Linked DNA regions of Homo sapiens: region 1 is linked to region 2. Evidence: promoter capture Hi-C in human tissues and cell types (Jung and others, 2019). All regions are on one chromosome and are shown on one strand. The core of a region is centred on a gene start or on the middle of the fragment in contact, and the rest is flanking DNA. Distances in the headings are between cores, read along the strand shown.

Region 1 (7,090 bases), core at 1,441-3,940, 100 kb before region 2:
GAGAGGAAGGAAGCAAGCTGGGATCTCATCAGGTGTCCTTCCTGCTGTCAGCCTTTTAGAACACGGGTGACTCTGTGCTATCAGATGGGATTATTTTTAAAATGTATTTTTTTGTTTTTGTTTTTGTTTTGAGACGGAGTCTCACTCTGTAGCCAGGCTGGAGGGCAGTGGCGTGATCTCGGCTCACTGCAACCTCCGCCTCCCAGGTTCCAGCGATTCTCCTGCCTCAGCCTCCTGAGTAGCTAGGACTACAGGCACGCACCACCATGTCCAGCTAATTTTTGTATTTTTAGTAGAGACAAGGTTTCACCATGTTGGCCAGGATGGTCTCCATCTCCTGACCTTGTGATCCGCCCCCCTCGGCCTCCCAAAATACTGGGATTACAGGCGTGAGCCACTGCGCCCGGCCTGTTGTTTTCTAAGTGTCACTCATTACCATGAACATGTCAAATACTTCCACAGTAAAAGTAACAAAATAGACATTTCTGTAATAATTTATTACAGAATCATGAAAGAACCATGGAACACAATGATGGCACATCAGTGGCTCATCTCCTTTACTTGACAAGTGAAGATACTAAGTCCTTCTGGGGTTGTGGAAGGTGTGTGGAGTTGTGAGCAATAGTTTAGGAGTCAAGGTTTTCTCCTTCCATGTCTTTCTTTCCTATCAAAAAGCCTAAGAATCCACAAACAGGTGTGGTGGAGATTGCTAACTGTTGCCTAGTATGTGTTCTTTTCTTCTTTTTTTAAAAAAAATAAACAGTATTTCCCCATCTGCCATTTTTAATCAGGGCATGACTTCACGGCTAGAGAACAGATCCCAGCTCTGCAGCTGGCTCTGGCCAATAGGGTATGAATGGAGATGATTAATGCAATTGCCTAGTCACCTTAGAAACAGCCACTTGCTCTAAATTTTCATTTTTTTAAATTATACTTTAAGTTCTAGGGTACATGTGCGTAACGTGCAGGTTTGTTACATATGTATACATGTGCCATGTTGATATGCTGCACCCATTAACTCGTCATTTACATTAGGTATTTCTCCTAATGCTATCCCTCCCTCCCTCCCTCCCCCGACCCCACGACAGGCCCCATTGTGTGATGTTCCCCACCCTGTGTCCATGTGTTCTCATTGTTCGATTCCCACCTATAAGTGAGAACATGTGGTTTTTGGTTTTCTGTCCTTGTGATAGTTTGCTCAGAATGATGGTTTCCAGCTTCATCCATGTCCCTACAAAGGACATGAACTCGTCCTTTTTTATGGCTGCACAGTATTCCATGGTGTATATGTGCCACATTTTCTTGATCCAGTCTATCATCAATGGACTAAATTTTCACTTTTATCTCCTTTACTTTGCTGAAAAACAATGAAATTTCAGCAGCAGCCTTGGACTTAGAAAATGGAAGCCATAAGCAGAGGGTACCAAACTCTAGAAAAAGATACTTCTCTCTTCCTCTCTTCCTCTGATCTAGTTTCACCCAGAATCTCATTTCCATGATGGCTAGACCTGGTCTTTTTCTTCATTGCTTTATCCTCAATCCCAGACACAGAGCAGAAACTCAGTCAGTATTTGCTCTCAGGGCTTTTGTCTCCATAATGCCTTCTTTAATCCTCACCGCTGTAGCTCAGTTTCTTTGTCCAGACTTGGCTTTGCTGGCCACTTTAGCCTCACTATTAAATAATTGACCTACTGATTATTTGATCACCAGTATTAGCTGATCCTTTTCTAGGTGCAAGGTGCTGGTGACAGAGTATTGACAGAAACAGGCATGGGCTACTGCCGTGGAGCAGATGGCCCACTCCCTGTGTATTCAAGGGGGAATCTCTACTTCAGCCTGAACTTGGTAAAAGTCATTTCCCCCATACCCCTTTCCAGCTGCCCACTGTGTTGTCTGGAAAACTCTGGTCTTTTAGGAGGACTGAGAATGAGATGGTTAGGACTGTCAATGACACAAACATGCCCCATGAGCACAAAGTACAATTTGGGGTGATGTGAGAGGGATGATGAAAGCTTCCCCAAACAGGGGAGATTGAGAGTTTTCCTTTAAAATGTTTTTATTTTTAACCAAGTTACCATTTCTTTGATGTAAGCAATACAGATAATAAAAAATAAAGACAAAATCATTGAAATATATCAGTGCTATACTTTCTACTCATTGATAATCTTACCACCCAGGTTACCAGTGGTTACCACTGATAACATCTTATGTATATATTGTACACTTTTCATATAAATCATATTTTTCATAGAAAAACAATCCTAAAATTCATATGGAACAAAAAAAGAGAACTAAATAGCCAAAGCAATCCTGAGCAAAAAGAACAAAGCTGGAGGCATCACACTACTTCACTTCAAAATATATTACAAGGCTTATAGTAACCAAAACAACATGGTGGTATGGCTCACGCCTGTAATCCCATCACTTTGGGAGGCCGAGGTAGGTGGATCATGAGGTGAAGATATCAAGACCATCCTTGCCAACATGGTGAAACCCCATCTCTACTAAACATACAAAAATTAGCTGGGTGTGGCAGTGCAGGCCTGTAGTCCCAGCTACTTGGGAGGCTGAGGCAGGAGAATCACTCAAACCTGAGAGGCAGAGGTTGCAGTGAGCCGAGACGGCACCACTGCACTCCAGCCTGGTGACAGAGCAAGACTCTCTCTCAAAAACAAAAACAGAAACAAAAAACCAACACATAGACCAATAGAACAGAATAGATAACCCAGAAAGTAATACACATATTTATAGCCAACTGATTTTCACCAAAAGCTCCAAGAACATACATTGGAGAAAGGACACCCTCTTCCATAAATGGTGCTGGGAAAATTGGACATTCATATGCAGAAAAATAAAACTGTACTTCCATCTCTCATCATATACAAAAAATCCACTCAAGATGCATTAATACTTAAACACAAAACCCTAAGCTATAAAACTACTTGAAGAAAACATAGGGAAAACACTTCAAGACATTGATCTAGGCAAAGATTTTATGGCTAAGACCTCAAAAGCATAGGCAACAAAAGCAAAAATGGACAAACGGGACTATATTAGAATACAAAGCTTCAGCACAGAAAATAATCAACAGAGTAAAGAGACAACCTGTCAAATGGGAGAAAATACTTGTGAACTATTCATCTGACAAGGGACTAATATTCAGAATATACGAGGCACTCACAACTCAACAGTAAACAAACAAACCAACCCACAATTAATCCCATTTAAAAGTGGGTAAAGGACAGGAAGAGACATTTCTCAAAAAAATACATACAAATGGCCAACAGGTATTTGAAAACATGTTCATCACTAATTATCAAAATGCAAATCAAAACCACAATGAGGTATTATCTTACCTCAGAATGGGTATTATTAAAAAGACAAACATTAACAGATGCTGATGAGGATGTGGAGAAGAGGAAACTCTTATACACTGTTGGTGGGAATGTAAATTAGTACAGTCACTATAGAAAACAGTATGGAGAGTTTTCAAAAAGCTAAAAATGGAACTATCATATGACCCGGCAATCCCACAACTGCATATTTATCCAAAGGAAAATAAATCAGTATATCAAAAGACACTTGCACCCCTATGTTTATTGTAGTGCTGTTCACAATAGCAAAGATATGAATTAACAAATTATCCATTAATAAATGGATGAAGAAAATGTGGTGTATATACACAATGGAGTACTATTTGGTCATGGAAAAGAAAGAAATCATGTCACTTTCAGAACATGAATGAAACTGGAGGTCATCATGCTAAGTGAGATAAGCCAGACATAGAAAGACAAATATTGTATATTCTCCCTCATATATGGGAGCTTAAAAAGTTGATGTCATGGAGGTGGAGAGTAGAATGAGACCAAAGGCTAAGGGTGTGTGTGTGTGTGTGTGTGTGTGTGTGTGTGTGTGTGTGTGTGGTGGAGGGGATGAAGAGAGGTTGCTGAATGGGTACAAACATACAGTTACATAGAAGGAATCAGTTCTAATATTTCATAACAGAGTAGGGTAGCTATAAGTAACAACAACGTATTGTATCTTTCAAAATAACTAGAAGAGAGAACTTGAAATGTTCCCAACACATATAAATGATAAATACTCGAGGCAATGGATACCCTAAGAACTCTGACTTGATAATTATACATTCAATGCACATAACAAAATATCACATGTATCTCATAAATGTGTACAAATATTATGTATCAATAAATTTAAAAATTACATTTTTATATCAACCACATATGCACAAGCTAAGAAACATTTTTAAAAAGATTTTAGAATTTCTGACATCAGGCTGTATCTTAGAATCAATGTATTTACAAAACAACATATGACAGTTTAAGTGGAAGCATCCTTTTTCTTAGTAATGAATAATTAATAGTCTATCTTATACTTGATGACATCTTAGATCTAATGAAATAGGTATATGTTTAGAGAAATGAGATCATATGTTTAGAGAAATGCTATCTCACCCTACAGTGACTAGCTTTTTTCAAACTAATATGTTGTGAATATCTTTCTAAGTCAATAAATAGAGCTCTGCGTTGTTATTTTTCATTGGCAAAGAATATTGTTGTACCATAATTTATTCATCCCCTAATTTGGTACAAGTATTTTATTTTCATTTTTTATAAAAACCATGGTTGGGATGGCTGTGCACGTGTGGGTGCAGGGATTATATGAAGACTGTACTTTCTACTCAGTTTTTTGTGAATCTAAAACTACTCGAAAAAATAAATTTATTAAAAAGAAAAACAAGCCATTATAAACAATGCAAGTCCAACAAGTCACAAGTCACATGGCCAACCTCATATTCAAGAGGTAGAGAAATAAACTTTACCTTGTGATTGGGAAACTACCAATTAACATTGCAAAGGAATGTGTATACATAAGAACAGATGTGATATGGTTTGCTGTGTCCCCACCCAAAACTCATCTTGAATTGTAGTTCCCATAATCCCCACATGTGGTAGGAGGAACCTGATGGAAGGTAATTGAATCATGGGGGTGGTTACCCTTATGCTCTTCTCATGAAAGTGAGTTCTCACAAGATCTGATGGTTTTATAAGGGGCTTTTCCCTCTTTGCTCGGCACTTCTCCTTTTTGATGCCCTGTGAAGAAGGATGTGTTTGCTTCTCCTTCTGCCATGATTGTAAGTTTCCTTAAGCCTCCACAGCTATGCGGAACTGTGAGTCAATTAAACCTCTTTCCTTTATAAATCTCCCAGTCTCGGGTAAGTCTTTCTCAGCAGCGTGAGAACAGACTAATACAACATGGAATTTGTGGAAACTGTTTTTACAATCAACAACACTTGGGAAGATTTTAAACATGGAAGAGACGTGATCAGATCTGCATTATAGAAACAGTACCCTGGTGATTCTATACAGAATTAATGGGAAAGTAGCTTCACTGGACACAGAGAGGCTGTGAAGAAGCTCTTTCCACAACCCTCCCAGGCAGTGGGAGTCCAAGGAAAATGTGTGAGTAAGAATCTGAAAGGTAACAGCCAGAGGGGTAGAAGGAAAGCCACTTATGAAAAGTGAGGGGAGGGGAAAGGTTCATAGATGATTGAAATGTCAGAAATTATAAAGAAAACCTTGGGCAGAAAGGTAGCTCTTGAAATTGGCAACAGGGAGGTTAATGACATCCCTTCTGGAATACTCTGAGAGTTGGGGGTGGTTGAGGAATTTAGAAGTTTAATGAATTAAAGGATTCCAGAATGTGCTAAATCTACATAGAAAGACTCCAGAGGTGCAAGGCTGCTTGTGGTTCCCCTCGACTGAGGAAGGTTAGTATTGCAAATCCCCACAGTGGCTGTGTGCTTTCACGTGCAGGTGACCAGAACAGGGTGGACAAACAGACTCCACTGCAGATGAGGGAACCTGATGAAAGAACATGTCTCACCCAGGGAGCATTTTCCAGTAAGAAATTCCCTGTTTTTATCCTTGAGCAGTGAGTAGAAAGGTAATGAATAGGATCAGTGGTGACTACTCAGGGAAAGGTGTAGCCCTGCTCATCCTTCCACTCTCAAACCATCTTTCCCTCTTGCCCTCAGCCGCAGCTTCCTCCATGCCTGCTCTTCCACCACCCTCAGCACACACTGCTTTCTGGCTGGCACACTCTTGTCTGGCAGTAAAATTTAGTGGTTGAATGAGGCTCTGGGCTGAATTACTGACCTTGAATTCTATTGCGACTCTTGTGAGTTGTGTGACCTAGGCCAGTGTGCTTAACATCTCCAGTCCTCAGCTTTCCTAAGCATAAAATAGTAAGTGCCTAGCTTGCCATAAGGATTCAGTAATTAGCTGCTATCAGTATTATTACTTTCTAAAGCTTGTACTGCCTTGTGGAGTTCCAATTTGAGACACAACGAGTAAGAATGAGAACAGGGCCTTCATGGAGCTCCTGTTCTGGACTAGACTGTGAGGATTCCAGCTCTTTCTCCCTTTGGCTGTAAGCTTTTTTGTGCTTCACTTTTCTCATCTGTAAAATGGGAATTACAGCAGTAACTTCCTTTGCTGGGTTGCTGTGAGGGCTGAATAAGAATTAGTAAAACCTAGGCTTATCTCCAAGGGGCAGGAAATCTGCAATCACAGTTAGTTAAATCTGATAGATGTTTACATCTCTTTCATGTAAAAGCCCAAAGGCCAATTGTCTGGGGCCTGTAGGACAGCTCTGCTCTGTAGGATCCTCAGAGTCCTGGCTGCCTTCCTTATCACTAAAAATCATCCTTTAATTTTCGTGGTCCAAGATGGCTCTCCAGTCATCTAACCAATGCTCCAAGTAATGGAAGGGAGGAAAAGCATGACAAAGAACTGAAGAGTAACTAACTTTGCACTGTCTTTTAAGGAAGTTTCCAGAAAGCAGCCATAGGACACCTGTAGTAATACCTCATTGACTAGAAATTAGTCATGTGACTTTATCAGTCAGAGAAGAGGTAAGAAAATGAAAGTTTTATTCTGTCCAGCCATGAACCACCTAAAAATGCTATTCCTTTAGATGAAGGTAAGAATGAGTGCTGGAGAGACAGCTACTTTGCTGAGACACGTTTACCATTTAGTCCTTGGCACACAGTAAGTGTATAACCAAC
Region 2 (6,733 bases), core at 3,216-5,715:
CCCACCCACCGCCTTCTGTGTCATCTCCAACACTCATCAATGTGTTGTCTTGGTTTCCACTACTTCACTGCACTTCTAAGATGTGAAACCTAGTTGGTTAGTTCATGTCTCCCCTAGCCAATGTGTTGCACAGTGCCTGGGACATAGTTGATGATGAATAAATATTTCTTAATTGTGTGAACTACATATAGAGGCCATATTAGTAGTCTTCAACTCAGGTTACACATAGAATTGCCTGGAAATTACTTAGGATACACCCCAGAGATTCTAATTCAATTAATTAAGGGCGGTGTTTCTCAAACTTGGCTGCATATTAGAGTCACCAGGGGAAATGTAAAATTGCACATGCTCAGGCCCCATCCCTGGCCAGTTACACCGTAACCTCTGGTGCTGACGTCCAAGCACCAGTGTTTTTGAAAAGTTGCCCCAGGTGACTCCATTATGTAGCTAGGGTTGGGCACTGCTGGGCTAGTTGGGGAAACAATTTAAGTACATCAAGAGTGGACTAGTGGGCCAGGTACAGTGGCTCACGCCTGTAATCCCAGCACTTTGGGAGGCCGAGGCGGGCGGATCACCTGAGGTCAGGAGTTCAAGACCAGCCTGGCCAACATGGTGAAACCTTGTCTCTACTAAAAATACAAAAATTAGCTGGGCATGGTGGCACATGCCTGTAATCCCGGCTACTCGGGAGGCTAAGGCAGGAGAATCGCTTGAACCCAGGAGGCGGAGGTTGCAGTGAGCCGAGATTGCACCACTGCACTCCAGCCTGGGTGACAGAGCGAGACCCATCTCGAATAAATAAATAGCCATTAGAAAAAAAAGAGAGAGAGTAGACTATTAATGTGTTCTTAGGTAAGACAAATACGAAATTAAGAAGTGAGTCACTTTTCGCGTATGTCTAATAAAATCTAATTTTCTTCCTTTCCAACTCTGTTGATTAATTTAATTGCTGAGTGTACAGGGTTGTTCTTTTTCAGGTTCACTTCTCTATCTTTTTGGCTAGTTGCTATTGCTGCATGGTGGCTGTGCTGGGTTGAATAGTGCCCACCAAAAATTTATGTCCATTTGGAATCTGTGAATATGATCTTATTTGGGAATAGGGTGTTTGCAGACATGATGGAGTTAAGATAAGGTCTTTCTTGATTAGGATGGACCCTAATCCAATGGCTGGTGCCCTTATCAGGAGAGGGAAATTTGACACACACGCAAGGGAAAATTCCATGTGAAGACAGAGGCAGGGATTAGAGTGATATGTCTATAAGCCAAGGAATGTCAAGGATTCCAGCAACTTTAAGAAACTGACAGAGAGGCATTGAACAGATTTTCCCTGAGACCCTCCAGGAGAAACTAACTTTGGTGACATCTTGAGGCACTTCTTGCCTCCATCACTGTGAGAGAACACATTTCTGTTGCTTTAAGCCACCTAGTCTGTGTAATGCACGATGGCACCCTGAATAAAATAATAGTGACTTCATGGGTATACATGATCCCTATAGCATCTAGGTATCACGTTCATTAAGAAGACTAAAGTCGTATTTCTGAAATCATTCTTTTATTTTGCACACACATAGCTGCTATTTACTGAACACTGGAAATTCATGAATGCGTTACATATTTAAACTTTCATAGAAGGCTCAGATCAACAAAGCAAAACTTCTACAGATAATAAGTAGTTGTGTATGCTTGTCACTCTTGGGCCCATCAGCACCTGTTCCCTATCATATTGCTGAACTCTGCAAACTCCAGAAAGGAAGGTTTCTTTTCCAAACTTCAGAGAAGCTGCAGATCAAGAATTTGGGCCGTTGCATCTGATTAGAAACTCTCTTCTTCCAGTGTGAGAACGTTGGATTGAAAGCGGCATAATATAAAAAGAGATGGTTGTCTGTCAGGGAGAGGTCAGATCTAAAAAAAAAAAAAAAGAAAAAAAAAGGAAGGGATGAAAAATTCTTTCTTTGTTGTTATGGGTTGAATTGTGTGAATTGTGTCCCTCCCAAAACCTAAAAACCGTAGACTTAAGTCCTAACCTCCAGTACCTCAGGGAGCGTTTGTATTTAAAGATAGGGGCCATTAAAGAGGTGGTTAAGGTAAAATGGGGCTGTTTGGGTGGGACTTCATCCAGTGTGAATGGTATCCTAACAAAAAGAGATGAGGACACAGACCCACGCAGAGGAATGACAGAGAGAAGGCTGCCATCTATGAGTCAAGGAGAGAGTCCTCAGAAGACACCAATCCTGCTGACACCTTGATCTTGGAATTTCAGTCTCCAGAATTGTGAGAAAATATATTTCTGCTGTTTAAGCCACCCATTCTGTGGTATTTTGCTATGGCAGCCCCAGCAAGCTAATACAGTAGTCCTATGCAGCTTATCTGCAGGATCAAGATATTGTTTTGAGCTTTAGCGCCTGTATGCATCTGTATATACGCTGTACATCTGTCTGTGTAAATACGCATGGATGGATGTCTAAATGGGTACTCTTCTGTTAACATTGTTTATCTCTGTGTGGTGGGATTATGGATGAAGTTTTAAAATTCTTTGTATTTTTCTGTTGTGTTTGAATTTTTCAAATGATTTGTATGTCTTATTTGTAGAAAGACCAAAAAAATCACTTTAAAAAGAAAAAAAAAAGGACCTCCTCTCAATAGTAACTTTTTTTGGCTTAAGTGTCCCCTTTTCTCCTCTGGGACAGATCTGAAATCTTAAACAAGCAGAAAACCTCCAGCCCAGAACAGCAGACACCAAAACAACTTTGTTGTGAACCAACATTTCTTGCTGCCTGGGCGCTTGTAGAAAAAGCCTTATTTGTTTGGTGGTATTCGTTATCAAAGTGCTGTTTATCAGGAAATCTGCTTTGTTCCTATTTTTCTTACATAGATAATATGAAAAAAACTCAGAAACTCTCCTTTTAAACTCAAAGTGCACAAGTAAGACTAGAATCCCATGTAAATGAACTCCTTACTGGTGTGCAAAATTAATGAAAGCTGCTACATTTAAGGATAGAGATCAGTAATAAGCCTTATTTCCACAAGAAAAAGTTTGGTCTTTTAAAAGCAATACTTGGAGTTGATTAAATCTGTTATTATTAATTAGATTTTCTCCTCTGTGATGAACAAAAAACAATTAAAGGCTTTGAGAGCTGTGAGAAAGACTTTAAAGACTATTTGACTCAAACTTTCCTCAGTGCACAACACTCCCCACCCTAACTTGACTGTAGGAGAAAAAACTGAGAACAAGACGGGGTGTGGCGACACCTCCACCATGACATAGCACCTCGGCCACTAACAGCTGCAGCAAATGCTTGGTTCATTAGGAAACGTTACCCGGCAGAATTCCAAAGGCCTCGGTCTAACAGTGAGGTGGTTCCATCACAAGGAGATTCTCAACCTTGGCTGCACATTCAAATCACTTGGGGGAGAGTTTTAAAAGTCCACATTCCTGCGCTACTATGTTGGAGACATAGATGGAACGGTCTGGCGAGGGGCCTGGGCATCAGCATTTTTAGAGCTCCTTGTAGGTGATTCCTATGCAACTCCAGGGTCAAGTGCCACTCCGGATGAACTACCTCATCTACACTGCTCTGCAACAGACAGCCTCAAACCCACCCCCAAACACACGCTGAGACTCTGATGTGGTCGCAGCAGCTGTGAAAGTGCTAAGTGCCTCTCACGTAGTCTCTGTATATAAGTATATACACGTAGTCTCTGTATATGAGTAAAGGAAAGGGTATTACCTGTAGGGGTCTTTCACCTGTCACCCTCGGAAGAAGCTGATGAGAAAGGCGCACAGGGCCTGGAAGGGTTTCCAACAATGTTCCCAGGCCTTCTTCTTTGCTTCCTCATTCCCTCCGGGCCTGGGTCCAGGCTGGGTAGGTTTGGCTGTGGGTCGGGTGGTGGGTTTGGCTTTTCCCAGCTCTTCCATCGAGTCCTTTCCCAGCTGTGTTGCTTCTGTGAGTTTCACTGTGGCCTTGGGCCTCAGAGATGGCGTCCCAGCCTCAGGCTGCTGGTTGGGCTCTGGGCTGCCCTTGAGGCTGGAAGTCACCTGCTGCATATGGGCCTGGGGTCCAGCCTCCCTGCACACGGATGGCCTAAGCACCGGGGCCCCCTGGCACGCATGGTGAAGGCGCCTCAGCTCCTGCAGGGCTTGATTCCAGTAAGGTTTGGGGTCAGCAGCGAAAGCCTGGCACATGCTGGGCTGCCCCCTGTACTCACACCAGTAGGTCTGGTCTGTGTTGCGGCAGTCGACACGAAGCCAGACTTCTCCAGCACCTTGCCCCAAGCTGCTGGGACGCATAGTGCAGGAATCTCTCCCTCCAGTCTGGAAATGGAATTCCTCCCCAGTGCTTCCTTGCTTTTGCCTCGGGGCCTGACCCAAAGTCCCCAGGCAGGACAAGGTCACCAGCAGGAGGCAGGGGACGAACTTCATGGCGATACTCCGATAAACTTGCTTGCAACTCTGCACCAGGAGAGAGAACACAAGTGGGACGAGTCACCCTTTAAAGGGTGCTGCACAAAAGACTCTTTCTCTGCAAGGGTGGGGAGGATGTTTTGCAGCAAATGAGAAACATGCCCACAGACCTTAGACACGTAACACTTGGCAAGGGCAGAGCAGCCACCAGGGGCCGCCCACCACAAGCAAAGGGAATGGTTTTCCTGAGTGCCTCAGAGAGATCTGCCCCAGCCCTGTCACGCACAAAGCGCCACACACAGCTTTGGGGCTGAGGGTTTTACAGTTTTCCAACCACAGGGTGCTTGCTCTAAAATTGGCCCTTGTACGGGAACAGCCTTCTTTGTCAACATTTGGTATATGCCAAGGTGTGGCAGTGGTATTCTGGAAAGTGAGGTTTGCAGCTGGGAGTCTGGGCTGCCTCGAGGCTCCCTCCTGCTCCCTGGAATCCCCATCTTGGGGGACCATGGGTTTAGTTAATCCAAAGGAAGCCAGAATTTTATGAGCCTAAGTGTTATGAGATGGCCTAGCAAATGCAAAAAAGACTATGTGAGGTTGTGTGAGGATGTGTGTGCCAGAGGGACACAGAGACACTCCCCCTCCCACCCACCGAGCTGAGAGTCACCTGGTGTGGCCTCTGTGGGGCTGTCCCGCCATCACCGTGGCCACAGGCCACAGTGCTGCAATGTTCACTTCCCTTGTTATTGCATGCCTTACAATTGCACCAACTGAATGATGACGAGGAAGGCATGCAAATATATGTTCACAGTGGGATTCAGTCTATTTTAGACCATGAATTCTATTTCAAATTCAATTGAAATAACACAGTTTTAATTATATCACAGGAAAATATGATTTTAAATATTATTATTATTGTTCTACAATAGAAAAAAAATAAATTGAAAATAACTTTTGATTCTGTGTCAAGAATCATAGTTTGGTATGGTCATAACTGTCTTTTGATGACCCTTCCAGAGGGCACTGTGGAGTGGACTAAAGGTGGCAATTTGCTGTTAGGAATAGGGTTGACGGATGTTGGGGGACTAGTTTGAATGTGAGGGATTTATCTTGGCGATCCCACGTAGGGTAGTTGGTACCTGGCACAGCCTTCCTTCCACCTGGATATCCTGAGTCCTGAGAAGACCTAGTAGGGCTGGAACTAAAGCCAGGCTGAGCTTCGGCAGCCACTGTGTGTGTAGCAGTGAGAGCCTTCCAGAAGAGGGCATCACCCCAGGTGGGGAGCAGAGGAAGCTTCCAAGAAGTGGTGCCAAACCTTCAAGACAAGTCAGTCAATTTGTCAGGTTGAGAAAGGGTAAAGGGCAGGTGTTTTTTTTGTTTGTTTGTTTGTTTGTTTGTTTTGGCCTCATTCTGTCACCTAGACCGGATTGCACTGGTGTAATTATAGCTCACTGTAGCCTCCAACTCCTGGGCTCAATTACTTCTCCTGCCTCAGCCTCTCAAGTAACTGGGACTACAGGCATGGGCTGCCACACCCAGCTAAATTTTAAATTTAAAATTTTTAGGGACAGGGTCTCACTCTGTTGTCCAGGCCGATCTCACACTCCAGGCCTCAAGCAATCCTCCTGCTTCCTTGTCCTCTGGAGTCACTGGAATTACAGATGTGAACCACCACAACCAGCTAAAGGTAGGTTTTTTTTTTTTTTCACACAGTCTTACTTTGCCACCCAGGCTGGAGTGCAGTGGCACAATCTTGGCTCACTGCAACCTCCACCTCCCAGGTTCAAGCAATTGTCCTGCCTCAGCCACCTGAGTAGTTGGGATTACAGGCGCCTACCACCATGCCAGGCTAATTTTTGTGTTTTTAGTAGAGATGGGGTTTCACGACGTTGGCCAGGCTGGCCTCAAACTCCTAACAAGTGATCCGCCCACTTCAGCCTCCCTAAGTGCTGAGATTACAGGCACGAGCCACTGCGCCTGGCCAAGGGCAGATTCTTAAGGCAGGATAATGCTTCCTGTAAAGGAGTGATCCTGGAGTGCAGGTTTATGGACTGCTGAAATGTCAAGGGCAAGGAGGCAGTGGTGAGAATCAGGCTGGAGAGGTGACTTAGGGTGGGGTCCGCAGCCCCCGTACCAATCCACAGGGCCAGTTCTAAGACAGAGGCTTGCCCTTTGTGTGCTTCCAACTCAGGAGCCCCTGGAGTAAACAGCACTCCAACCCAGGCTCCATGTCGTGGCCACAGGAAGGCAGGTGTTCAGCTCCAACCTCCTTTCCCCCACCCACCACAGTGTTGCAGGGAACAGCTTGCTAGACCCATCTAGACACCCTGAGGT

The links. The method cuts DNA at HindIII sites, captures the fragments that hold promoters and counts their contacts. A contact is called where the count stands out against the background at its distance.
Region 1: a contact is called between a fragment that was not itself captured here and the fragment with the promoter of FGFBP2 in region 2, in 3 of the 25 tissues and cell types used here (H1 embryonic stem cells, mesenchymal stem cells and mesendoderm cells).

Annotation. Positions count from the first base shown.
Region 1 is chr4:15,856,314-15,863,403 of GRCh38, forward strand. No RefSeq gene overlaps it. Among named protein-coding and RNA genes, the nearest start is that of FGFBP1, 79 kb to the right of the region's middle. The HindIII fragment of the contact is 4,017 bases long and covers 683-4,699 here.
Region 2 is chr4:15,958,710-15,965,442 of GRCh38, forward strand. FGFBP2 (fibroblast growth factor binding protein 2) reads right to left here and starts at 4,466. Exons shown (of 2, transcript NM_031950.4): 1 at 3,729-4,466; 2 at 1,536-1,902. The coding sequence starts at 4,420. The coding sequence ends at 3,749. RefSeq lists an enhancer at 4,496-5,337. The HindIII fragment of the contact is 18,537 bases long and covers 353-6,733 here.